Linked DNA regions of Homo sapiens: region 1 is linked to region 2. Evidence: promoter capture Hi-C in human tissues and cell types (Jung and others, 2019). All regions are on one chromosome and are shown on one strand. Each heading gives the region's core, a stretch centred on a gene start or on the middle of the fragment in contact. The rest is flanking DNA. Distances are from core to core; before and after follow the strand shown. Region 1 overlaps MRPL48 (mitochondrial ribosomal protein L48). Region 2 holds the start of COA4 (cytochrome c oxidase assembly factor 4 homolog).

Region 1 (6,105 bases), core at 81-2,580, 54 kb before region 2:
TCCTAAGCCTTGCCTGTTTCTCTAAGCTCATCTCTTGCCACCCTGATCCTCTTGCTCTACTTTAAAATTATCTCTGGCTCTTTCTCTGCCTATACCGTGTTTTCTCCTAACTCCTACTTATCCTTCAAGTTTTACTTAAAAGCCACTCACTCTAAGAACCCTTTCCTGGCACTCAAGTTCATCTTAAGTGCCCCTCCCGTGTACAGTGCTTATCATAGACAGCCCTTATCACCTTGCATTGATATTAGTGTCTGTCTTCCTAGGTGGCAGGTTCTGTATTGCAGGGACTTAGTCTTTGTTCATTGTTGTAGCCCCAGCTTCTAGGGCAATGCGTGGTACCTATCAAGCCTGCCATGGATATTGGGTTGGTTGTACACTGCACAACTCTGGTGTGTGCCATTCATATGATTGTGCAGTATAATGGTTGCTGCCTACCCTAATAGGTAATAATAAATATTTGTTGAATGGATGATCATACTTTGGAGAGTTCAGTGCTTTTTAGGAGGTCTTATTTTGAGTCATAATAAAATCTTCGATGAGGTTGGTTTTCAAGGTCCTGGCCTGAGGATCACTGTGTACCCATCAAAGAGATTTGGATATCAGCTCCATGGGTGGGTCCTCAGGTTGGAGAGTCTAGAGCCCGAAGTTGCAAAAGGTCAAAGGTCTTAGATTCAGAGAGATGAAACTGGGGCAGCAGTCAGGAAGATACCTTGGTTATATTCTGTGCTCTTTGGGAACCTCTGGCCAAAAATACCTCCCTATTCCTTACACGGTAAACTCTTACTCTGCTTTCAAGAATGCAGCTGTTTCCTCATCTGAACCTATTCCCCTGCACCCTGCACCCCCACCCCAAAGGCAGAGTTAGTTTTTTCTTCCTCTGAGCACCTATGACATTGCTCACGTGTCCATTAAAGTACTTAGTACACCGTAAGGTGATTATCTGCTTTCCTATCTTCCTTTCATACTATACCTCGAGTATCTCAAGGGAAAGTAGCATATTTTATTTGTCTTTGTAACTGTCTCAGTGTCTATACAGTTATTGGCATGTAATTGTAAATGTGGATTAATGCATATCGTGGAAGGGATCCATGATATTTCTGGGTTGTCTTGATGAAATAGCGTGGATTGTAAATGTGGAGAAGTTCTCTGAAGCCAGTACTATCTCTGATAGGCCTCACACAGAGCAAACCTGCTTGGAAGCCCATTTTAGAAAACAGAGGCCTAAGAAAACTTTTACTTGATGTCACTTAGATCAGGAATCCCCAAACCCCAGGCCATGGACCAGTACGTGGTCTGTGACCTGTTAGGAACCAGGCCACACAGCAGGAAATGAGGGGCAGTTGAGCCAGGGAAGCTTCATCTGTATTTACAGCCCCTCCCAGCCACTCCCCATCACTCAAGCTATCACCTGAGCTCTGTCTCCTCTCAGATCAGCTGTGGCGTTAGATTCTCATAGGAGCATGAACTCTTTTGTGAACTGCACATATGAGGGATCCAGGTTGAGCACTACTCATTCTGAGAATCTAATGCCTGATGATCTGTCACTGTCTCCCATCACCCCCAGATGGGACTGTCTAGTTGCAGGAAAACAAGCTCAGGGCTTCCACTGATTCTACATTATGGTGAGTTGTACAATTATTTCATTATATATTACAATGTAATAATAATATAAATAACATGCACAATAAATGTAATATGCTTGAATCATCCCAAAACCACTTCCCCACTCCTCACATCTGTGGAAAAATTGTCTTCCATAAAATTGGTCCCTAGTGCCAAAAAGGTTGGGGACTGCTGACTTAGACTTCTTCACACCATCTTGTGTTTAATACCTCACAGAGTGGTGACCCTGAAGAAATGAGGGCAGGACCACAGCAGCTTGAAGATCCCTCTTCAAGGAAGGACTTGCTGCCCATATCTTGATGCCATATACACATACATATAGATACACACACATACACATGTTATCCTTTAACCCTCTTTATTATCCTCATTTATAAATAAAGAAGAAACAGTAGCTCAAAAAAATTTGGTGAAAGTAACCAGAAAGAAACAGGTGGGACTTCTATTTAAACTCAGGTCTATCTGACTGAACAGCCTGTGTCCATAACCACTAGGTTATAACACTTGATTTCTAGAATACAAAAATCTAGCTAGACCTGATCTGATTTCAGTTTCTTATCTCTACCCTATCTTTTCTTTTCTGTTTTTTTTTTTTTTTTTTTTTAATTTAGAGACAGGATCTTCTTATGTTGCCCGGGCTGAAGTGCAGCAGCTATTTGCACTACAACCTCAAACTCCTAGTCTCAAGCAATCCTCCTGCCTCAGCCTCCTGAGTAGCTGGGACTACAGACACATGCTACCACTATGGCTACCTGGGTCTACCACAATGTATATATATATAAAGACCCCCCTTTTTTTTTTTGAGACGGAGTCTGGGTCTGACACCCAGGCTGGAGTGCAGTGGCATGATCTTGGCTCACTGCAGCCTCCGCCTCCTGGGTTCAAGTGATTCTCCTGCCTTAGCCTCCTGAGTAACTGGGATTATATGCGTGCACCACCATGCCCAGCTAATTTTTGTATCTTTAGTAGAGATGGGGTTTCACCATGCTGGTCAGGCTGGTTTTGAACTCCTGACCTCGTGATCTACCTGCCTCGGCCTCCCAAAGTGCTGGGATTACAGCCATGAGCCACCGCACCTGGCCAAGACCCTATTTTTTTAATCCAGTAGTAGCATACCTACATACTGTTCTACACTTTTGGTTTTTGTTTTTGTTGTTGTTCACTTAACGATATTTGTTGGAGGCTGTTTTCAGATCAGCACAAATAAATCAAGTTAGATGTTTTGTAAAACTGTATGGCCGGGCGCGGTGGCTCACGCCTGCAATGCCAGTACTTTGGGTGGCCGAGGTGGGCGAATCATGAGGTCAGTTCGATACCAGCCTGACCAACATGGTGAAACCCCGACTCTACTGAAAATAGAAAAATTAGCCGGGTGTGGTGGCGCGTGCCTGTAATCCCAGCTACTCAGGAGGCTGAGGCAGGAGAATTGCTTGGACCTGGGAGGTGGAAGTTGCAGTGAGCTGAGATCGCACCACTGCACTCCAACCTGGGTTACAGAATGAGACTCTATCTCAAAAAAAAAAACAAAAAAACTTTATGGAATTCTATGCTCTTCCTCTTTGCTGGCTATTTTTGCTGCCTGTCTCTTTCTCTATATAGTCACAGTTAGAAAACTTCAAAAGGGAAGGCGAAAGGATTTTTTTTTCAAAAGAAAAAAAGAAAACCTCAAAAGGATTATTGCCTGTTGAGGAACAAGAAGAGATGAGAGCCCTCTGAGAATGTATTTTATCCCCTTACTGCCAGTGGCTTTATCAGGAGAGAATTTCTCAAAGAAAGATGAGTAGTGGGGATCGTGCATATTCTAGGAGCCAAAAGGAGAGAATAAGGGGACAAACTGAGAATCCGTCCAGGATCAAGAAATATCTATGGCTCCTTAAACCAACAAGAGGTCAGCTACCACCAAATCTTCCCAGTCCTGCAGTGGAGAATTTGTCCCCTCAAATCATCTGCTGTTCCCAGAGGAGCTTAGAAAGAGGTTTTAATATAGTTATTGTATGTTAAGGAAATTAGCATTTCTCTGTTACGTATGCTTTGTACTTTTTCTTGTCATCTAGTCCTTAACTTCATTTATTTATTTATTTTTTGTTGAACAGAAGTTTTAACTTTTTATATACTAAGTTTATTAATATTTGATTTCTAGATTTTGTTTCATGCTTAGAAAGATCTCCGAGATTACTTTTAAAAATCCTTACTGTTACCTTGTTTTTTATATATGTGTGTGTGTGTGTGTGTGTGTGTGTGTGTGTGTGTGTATACATATTTTTTTTTCTTTTTTAAATTTGTAGTCCAAGCTAGGTGTGGTGGCTCACACCTGTAATCCTGGCACCCTGGGAGGCTGAGGTGGGAGGAGCTGCAGACCAGCTTGGGCAACATAGCAAGACTCCAGCTCTACAAAAAATAAAAGACATTAGCTGGGCATGGTAGCACATGCCTGTAGTACTAGCTACTTGGGGTCGGCGGGGAGGGGGGTGTGGGCTGAGGCAGGAGACTGTCTTGTACCAGAAGTTCGAGGCTTCAATGAGCTATGAGATGGCATTACATCCCAGCTTGGGTGACAGAGCAAGACCCTGTCTCTTAAAAAACAACGATAATAGCAACAACAAAAAAACAGGTTTGTCTTATTTTCTCTCTTTTAGGTGGAATTCTACTAAGTATCAGTCGGCCCTACAAGACAAAGCCCACCCACGGCATTGGAAAGTACAAGCACTTAATTAAAGCAGAAGAGGTAACGGGCAGGGGGAGTCTTTTGGAAAAGGATAATGTGCAGCTTTTGCAAAAACCTGAAGATCAGATATGTATAGTTTTGATAATATTGGAGCTAGAAATGATAAAGTTGCCTCTCAATCCTTGCCAGTTATTAATTTGGAATTTCCAGACTGGAGATGTTTCTACCAACTTCCAATCTTATCCCTAGGCCAGGTTATAATAGTAAAAAGCAAATGGTTTTTATTTTTATTTTTTTTTGAGACAGGGTCTTGCTCTGTCACCTAGGCTGGAGTGCAGTGCATGATCACGGCTCACTGCAGCCTTGATCTCCTGGGCTCAAGTGATCCTCCCACCTGAGCCTCCCAAGTAGCTGGTACTACAGGTTCTTGCCACCATGCCCATCTAATTAAAAAAAATTTTTTTATAGAGACAGGGTCTTGCTGTATTGCCCAGGCTGGTCTCAAGCTCCTGGCCTCAAGTGATCCTCCTGCTTCAGCCTCCGGAAGCATAGGGATTACAGGCATGAGCCACCATGGCTGGCCTGATTTTATTATTTGTAATACTTAAAAAAAAATCTTCCTAGTAGTGTACTTATTTCAGTATGGACCTCATAATGGAAATGATAATTCAGTTTAGTTGAGTGAATGAGTTGTGGCAAGTAGAGGTAGACTGATATTTTCAGCCATATAACTGATACTTTTTTGTTTGTTAGTTTTTTTGAGATGGAGTCTCGCTCTGTTGCCCAGGCTGGAGTGCAGTGGCACGATCTCAGCTCACTGCAACCTTTGGCTCCCGGGTTCAAGCTGTTCTCATGCTTCAACCTCCCAAGTGGCAGGGATTATAGGCGTCCGCTGCCACACCTGGCTAATTTCTGTATTTCTAGTAGAGGTGGGGTTTTACCATGTTGACCAGCCCAGGTCTTGAACTCCTGACCCCAAGTGATCTGCCTGCCTTGACCTCTGAAAGTGCTGGGATAACTGATTCTTACTGTATTTTCTTTTTTTTTTTTTTTTTTTGAGATGGAGTTTCACTCTTATTGCTCAGGCTGGAGGGCAATGGTGCGATCTCGGCTCACTGCAACCTCCACCTCCTGGGTTCAAACGATTCTCCCGCCTCAGCCTCCCGAGTAGCTGGGATTACAGGCATGCGCCACCAAGCCTGGCTAATTTTGTATTTTTAGTAGAGACGGGATTTCTCCATGTTGGCCAGGCTGGTCTCAAACTCCCGACCTCAGGTGATCTGCCTGCCTCAGCCTCCCAAAGTGCTGGGATTACAGGCATGAGCCACCAAGCCTGGCCTCTTATTGTATTTTCAAATCTAAAATAGGCTGGGTGTGGTGGCTTACACCTGTAATCCCAGCAATTTGGGAAGCTGAGGCAGGCAGATCTCTTGAGGTTGAGTTCAAGACCAGCCTGACCAACATGGCAGGAACCCCGTCTCTACTAAAAATACAAAAATTAGCTGGGTATGGTGGCGCGTGCCTGTAATCCCAACTACTCGGAAGCCTGAGGCATGAGAATCACTTGATCCCAGGAGGTGGAGGTTGCAGTGAGCCGAGATCACGCCACTGTACTCTAGTCTGGGCAACAGAGTGAGACTCTGTCTCAAAAATAAATAGATAAATAAATTATGTGCTTCTTGAATCCTTTATCACAGGTAAGTGGATATTAGTTCTAAGCATTATGAAATTATTTAGCCCATTTCTTTGGCTCCAGTTAGATTTCTGTGTGTGTGCAGAGGATTTTCTTTTGGGGTGGATACAGCATGCAAGGTATA
Region 2 (6,238 bases), core at 3,623-6,122:
GAGACCAGCCTGGCCAACATGGTGAAACCCCATTCTCTACTAAAAATACAAAAATTAGCCGGGTGTGGTGGTGCTTGCCTGTAGTCCCAGCTACTTGGGAGGCTGAGGCAGGGGGATCACTTGAATTTGGGAGGCAGAGGTTGCAGTGAGCCGAGACTGCGCTACTGCACGCCAGCCTGGGCAACAGAGCAAGACTCCATTTCAAAAAAAAAAAAAAGAATAGAATGGAAGAGTCGTTTTGTTGAAGAAAAATGAGAAATGATATGCAACTGTTTTGAATGGGAAAACACAACCTACTTAAAGGGGGAGTTATTATTCAGCTCCAGCAAATTGTTAAGAGGGAATAAAAATCAATGTTGACATCTTCTCCCCTTTTCAAAAGCTGAAAATCTGTATTTTAGTGTTAAATATACTCTAAAAATGTTAGCCCAACTTTGTGTTTGTTGGGTTGGGAGCAAGTTAAAGCCAGACTTGGTATCTGTTAATTCAACAGAATCTGGCATTTAATAGGTACTCAATGTTTGAATAATTAGCTGGGTGTGGTGATGCACACACCTGTGGTTCCAGCTACTTGAGAGGCTGAGGTGGGAGGATGGCCTGAGCCCACTGAGGATGCAGTGAGCCCTGACTCCACCACCACACTCCAGCCTGGGCAACAGAGACCCTGTCTCAAAAAAACAAAAGAAAAACATATTTGAATAAAAAGTTTCCCCATTTATTTTTCCTTCCACTAAACTGATTGAAACATCCAGAACAAGTGATGAAAGAGAAAGGCACTAATTAGGTAATCAATTTACCATTAGATTGTAAATTTAATTTAAAATAAAATGTCCCTAAAATCATCTCAGTACTTGGCACACTGACTTAAGATGTGGGGTGGGGGAGCATCCCTTAACACATTCTTTGTTTTCCTGGTAAATACTGGTGGAACAAGACAGCTGAGAATGTATGACATCTGACCATGAACATATGACAGCTGTTTGTGCCAGTCATGTCCAAACCCATGGCTCTCAACTCCAGATCCAAAAACTCTCCCCATGTTTTAGACCTCCCACACCAGCATTTAGGATTTCTTCCTCTATAATCTTGCTGGGTGCTGGTCTTGGCAGGGCCATCTACTGGGGATAGGTGGTTTGGGGTCTCAGTGGTGGGCACCGGCTTGTTCTTGCCTCCTCTGCAGCTCCTCTTGCCGCCTCGCCTGCTGTTCACTCATGCAATCCTTGAACGCCTGCACCTGTGGCTGGCATTGCCGCCAGTCCTGGTGCTGGGCCATGCACTCCTGCACTGCAAAGTGGGAGGCAGCACAGCCAGAGCGGGAGATCAGCTGGTCCAGCGGGTCCTCCTCCTCATCGTCTTTCTTCACCCGTTGGGTCCAGGTATGGCCTTGAGGGACTGAGGTTGACATCCTGGGGATGGGGAGTCTATAGAACATTAACAGGTTAGAGTAGGGATATAATATGTAAGGTTCCTAAATTATAAATAGCACTGACCAGACTGCACCATTTAGCCTGTTTAATGTGTCTGTCTCCCGTGGGAGACTCTAAGCTTGAAGACAGATGCTTGTTTTTTTTTTTTTTTTTTTGAGGGTGTCTTGCTTTGTTGCCCAGGCTCACTGTAGCCTCCATCTTTAGGGATCAAGCAATCCTTCCCCCTCAGTCCCTCCCTGGCCAGAGTAGCTGGGACTACAGGTGTGCATCACCACTCAGCTAATTTTTTTGATTCTTTAATAGAGACAAGGTTTTTCCATGTTGCTCAGCATGGTCTCAAACTCCTGGGCTCAAGTGATCCTCCTGCCTTAGCCACCCAAAATGCTGGGATTACAGGTGTGAGCCAACTGTGCCCGGCTGATGTTCGTCTTGATTTACCTTTGTGCCCCCAGCACTAGGCCTGGCTGAGAGCAGGCCTGAAAAGTGGTTTGAACTGAATGAGATAAACTGTGAGAATGCTTGACATAACATTCAATAAGCTCAGTGGATTTTGCTATTGGAATATGAATTAGGTGAAATGTCATCTTTTTAGATAAGCTATCTCTGATCTACCTAAAAAGAACTAAACTTTCAGCTAGGTACGATGGCTCACACCTGTAATCCTAGCATTATGGGAGGCTGAGGCAGGAAGATCCCTTGAGCCCAGGAATTTGAGACCAGCAGGGGTAATAGCAAGACCTCATCTCTACAAAAAAATTTAAAAATGGCTGGATACGGTGGCTCATGCCTATAATCCCAGCACTTTGGGAGACTGAGGCAGTCGGATCACCTGAGGTCGGGAGATCAAGATCAGCCTGACCAACATGGAGAAACCCGTCTCTACTAAAAATACAAAATTAGCAAGGTGTGGTGGCATATGCCTGTAATGCCAGCTACTCAGGAGGCTGAAGCAGGAGAGCCGAGGTTGAACTCGGGAGGCGGAGGTTGCGGAGAGCCGAGATCACACCATTGCACTCCAGCCTGGGCAATAAGAGCAAAACTCCATCTCAAAAAAAAAGAAAAAAGAAAAAAAATGTAAAAATTAGCTGGGCATAGTGGCACACACTTGTAGTCCCAGGTACTCAAGAGGCTGAAGAGGGAGAATCCTTTGAGCCCAGGAGTTCAAAGGCTGCAGTGAGCTATGATGGTGCCACTGTACTCCAGCTTAGGTGACATAGTGAGACCCTGTTTCAAATAAATAACCTTTCTTCTTTTATCCTACTAGCCTTATTCTATGCTGAAGAACAAAGTTTAAAAAGTGAAAGAGGCTGGGTGCAGTGGCTCACACATGTAATCCCAGCAATTTGGGAGCCCGAGGCAGATGGATCATAAGGTCAGAAGTTCAAGACCAGCCTGGCCGGGATGATGAAACCCCGTCTCTACTAAAAATACAAAAATTAGGCGGGCGTGATGGCAGGCACCTGTAATCCCAGCTACTCGGGAGGCTCAGGCAGGAGAATCGCTTTAACCCAAGGGGCGGAGGTTGTAGTGAGCCAAAGATCGTGCCACTGCACTCCAGCCTGGGTGACAGAGTGAGACTCCATCTCCAAAACAAACAAACAAACAAAGTGAAAGAGTGCCCAAATATGGGTAGGTTTTGACACATGGGAAGGATGGAAAGAGTTCACTGTGGCTGTAGCATACAGTATGCAGAAACCTGGCCTCTGGGTCTATAAGGTGAGATGGCTTTGTAAACTATACAAAAATGTGAGGTGTATTTATTTGCCCAAACTGTCTTGCCCGTCTGCATCAGAACACTCAGCAGAAAGCAGCATACAGAAGGAACTTAAGGTTTGAAGAGAAATGACTTCAGCCTTTGCAAAAATTTCACCATGATGGGCTGTAAAGCAACTAGGACTCCTTATTGCCTTAACTGTGTCTCTCATTCACTCAACAAATGATTAAGTACCTATCATGTACCAGGCACTATGCTAGTGCTGAGGATTCAAGACTGTCTAAGTCAGTTAAGTTCCTGGCTTCATGGAGTTTACAACCTAGACAAGGAAACAGGGCAGTTTACTACACAGTGTACAGATAGCAAAGACTGGGACCACAGTGGAGGGATGCCTAATCCAGACAAGGGCAGGAATAGGCAGGGAAGGCTTCCTAGAGGAAGTGATTTCCAAGCTGAAACTTGACAGATGGAACAGAAGTTAGCCAGAGATGGGAAAACTATTTTTGGTCAATGGAAGAGCAGGTGGTTGAGATAGAATCTGACACATGAGAGCAAAAAAAAAAAAAAGTTCAGTGATGGGAGAATACAGTGTGAGAATAAGACAATATTAAACTGGCGATATAAGTAAGTGATCATCACAAGGCTTTGTAGGACATAGTAGGGAGTTTAAGACTTTTTATTCTGAGGGCAATGGGGAATCACAAGAGGGAGTTAGGCACTTTACACAACTCATTTGCCTTGGAGGCGGTATAACTTAAGCAAGAGGGAGAAAATGGGCTTTGAAACAGACTTGGACCTAGCTTTGTCACTGCCTCATTTGGTGCCCTTGGACACATCATTTAATAACCTCTCTGGAAGCACAGAGATGAAGCCGGGTGCCATGGCTCACGCCTGTAATCCCAACACTGGGAGGCTGAGGCGGGAGGATGGTTTGCGCCCAGCCTGGGCAACACTGTGAGCCGTGATCACGCCACTGCATTCCAGCCTGGGTTACAGCGGGAGACCCTGTCTCAAAAAAAAAAAAAAAGAAAAAAAAAAAGGTAAGGTTTGTAAGGAGGCTGGTATGTCTAAAGAGTTCAATAAATGATAGTTTTCTCTTCCTAAATACACTGTTAACTCTTTAAATAGGGCCAGGAGCAAATAATTTAGAGAAAGAACAGTGGAATAGAAAGTGCCTTGATCCTAAACCAAGAGATCCGTGTTCAAATCCCAGCACTACGCCTTACTATGTAATCTTTTTCATTTTAGTTTTCCCATTAATAATATTTAATTCGCACAATTAGAATGAAGATTAATATAACGAATGAAAAGCGCTTGGGCTACTATAGGACTCAGTAAATGCTGCTGTACTCTCCTCTCACCACCTTTTGGCTTCAGTCTCCTCTGGAGTAAAATGACGACGACCCCTGCTCAGAGATCAGGGTAGGCTAGATGGTTGGCAGCTGGATCGTGGAGGCTGGCCTAAACAAGGAAGTCATGGAAAGGATCTTAAAGCAGAAAAATGCTGGCAGCCACGAGGCCTGAGGCGCCTCAGGCGTATCGAGGACTTTGAACTTTGAGGACGCATGCGCGCGCGCGGCCGCTGATCGCAGCCCCGTTGTGCCCGCAACGCCTCCTGAAGAACGCGGTACGCGATGCTCACCGAACAGGTGGGAGAAGAGGGCCCGAACGCACGCTCCTACGCGGCGGCTTGGGTTTCGCAGGCGGTTGGGGATCCTCTGTACATCCTTTCAGGAACCAGCCCCTCGTGGGGAGCGTGCACACGGAAGGGGCGGGGAATGTGAAAAAGTCACGTTTTCATTGGTGGCCTCTTGGTGTTGAGCCCACCTCTGTCCTCGCCGCACGCTTCTCGGGGACTCACTTCCGGGAAGGGGCGGAAGAGGTGGGCTGGTGGAGGCGGGGTCGAGATGGCGGCGCCTTTGAGGATTCAGAGCGACTGGGCGCAAGCCCTCAGGTGAATCCAGGCCCAGAACAGAGTCAGAGGAGGCGGGTAGTGGATGTTGCTTTGCGTCAAGGAGAGCCATGCCTGGTCCAGGATATCAATAGGGGTTACTTCGTCAATTGTCGAGGGATATGGAGGGAACAGGGTCCGGAAAAAGAAGTATCAAACCCGTATGGTCATTCTCTGAAAAGCTATCCCTAGGCCAAGGGAGCACATGAGCTGTGTGATCCCCGCGTCAGAACTAGTATCAGTGAGTTGGAGAAAGACAGGGATACTGGGAGGCAGGAAGGCTTTTGGCCAAGCAGTCATTTAGCAAATATTGATTAGTCGTCAGTTACTTCCAGAAGTCTCTGTACTCACCACCACTTTGTGTATGTGATGGAACCTTTGTATTCTCCTAGGCCCCTAATGCTATATTAGGCATACTGGACGATACTATTAAGGAAACTAATACTGTGTCCAGGCCCCATACTGGATGCTTGGTGGAGCTCAGATGTATACTCTAAATATAAGTGATGGTTCCTGCTCTTCAAGAAGCTGACATCCAGGCCAGGCGCAGTGGCTCATGCCTGTAATCCCAGCACTTTGGAAAACTGAGATTGGTGGATCAGTTGAGGTCAGAAGTTCGAGACCAGCCTGACCAACATGGTGAAACTCCGTCTCTACTAAAAATACAGAAATTAGTCGGGCTTGGTGGTGGGCGCCTATAATCCCAGCTACTCGGGAGGCTGAGGCAGGAGAATCGGTTGAACCCAGGAGGTGGAGGTTGCAGTGAGCCGAGATTGCACCACTGCACTCCAGCCTGGGTGACAGAGCGATACTCATCTCAAAAAAGAAGAAAAGCTGACGTCTTAATTAGGAATACACAGCAAACTATTCATTCATCTAACATTTATTGATCTTATACTATTCCAGTTATTTCTCTAGGCTTCAGGATGAATATAGCAGTGCTATATTTGGCAACTGCTACTACTAATAAGGGTTTTTCAAATTGAAACAATGGTGAAGATGAATGAAACATAGCCTTCTGCATTTAAGAAATTTACACCTTACTAAATTTATACCTTACTTAATTTAGGTGGGCTAAAATACAGACTAGTTGCTAGTACACAGAATGTGATAAGTAATAAAGAACAATAACATGAAGTGCCACTA

The links. Contacts are between HindIII fragments. The study calls those that stand out against the background at their distance.
Region 1: a contact is called between a fragment that was not itself captured here and the fragment with the promoter of COA4 in region 2, in 6 of the 25 tissues and cell types used here (H1 embryonic stem cells, bladder, mesenchymal stem cells and 3 more).

Annotation. Positions count from the first base shown.
Region 1 is chr11:73,821,449-73,827,553 of GRCh38, forward strand. It overlaps MRPL48 (mitochondrial ribosomal protein L48), which reads left to right. Exons shown (of 8, transcript NM_016055.6): 4 at 4,260-4,348. Among named protein-coding and RNA genes, the nearest start is that of MRPL48, 37 kb to the left of the region's middle. The HindIII fragment of the contact is 6,321 bases long and covers 1-4,491 here.
Region 2 is chr11:73,871,974-73,878,211 of GRCh38, forward strand. It overlaps COA4 (cytochrome c oxidase assembly factor 4 homolog), which reads right to left and starts at 4,873. Exons shown (of 2, transcript NM_016565.3): 1 at 4,784-4,873; 2 at 694-1,421. The coding sequence starts at 1,405. The coding sequence ends at 1,142. It overlaps PAAF1 (proteasomal ATPase associated factor 1), which reads left to right and starts at 5,026. Exons shown (of 12, transcript NM_025155.3): 1 at 5,026-5,095. The coding sequence starts at 5,049. RefSeq lists enhancers at 5,124-5,173, 5,194-5,263. The HindIII fragment of the contact is 11,350 bases long and covers 1-6,238 here.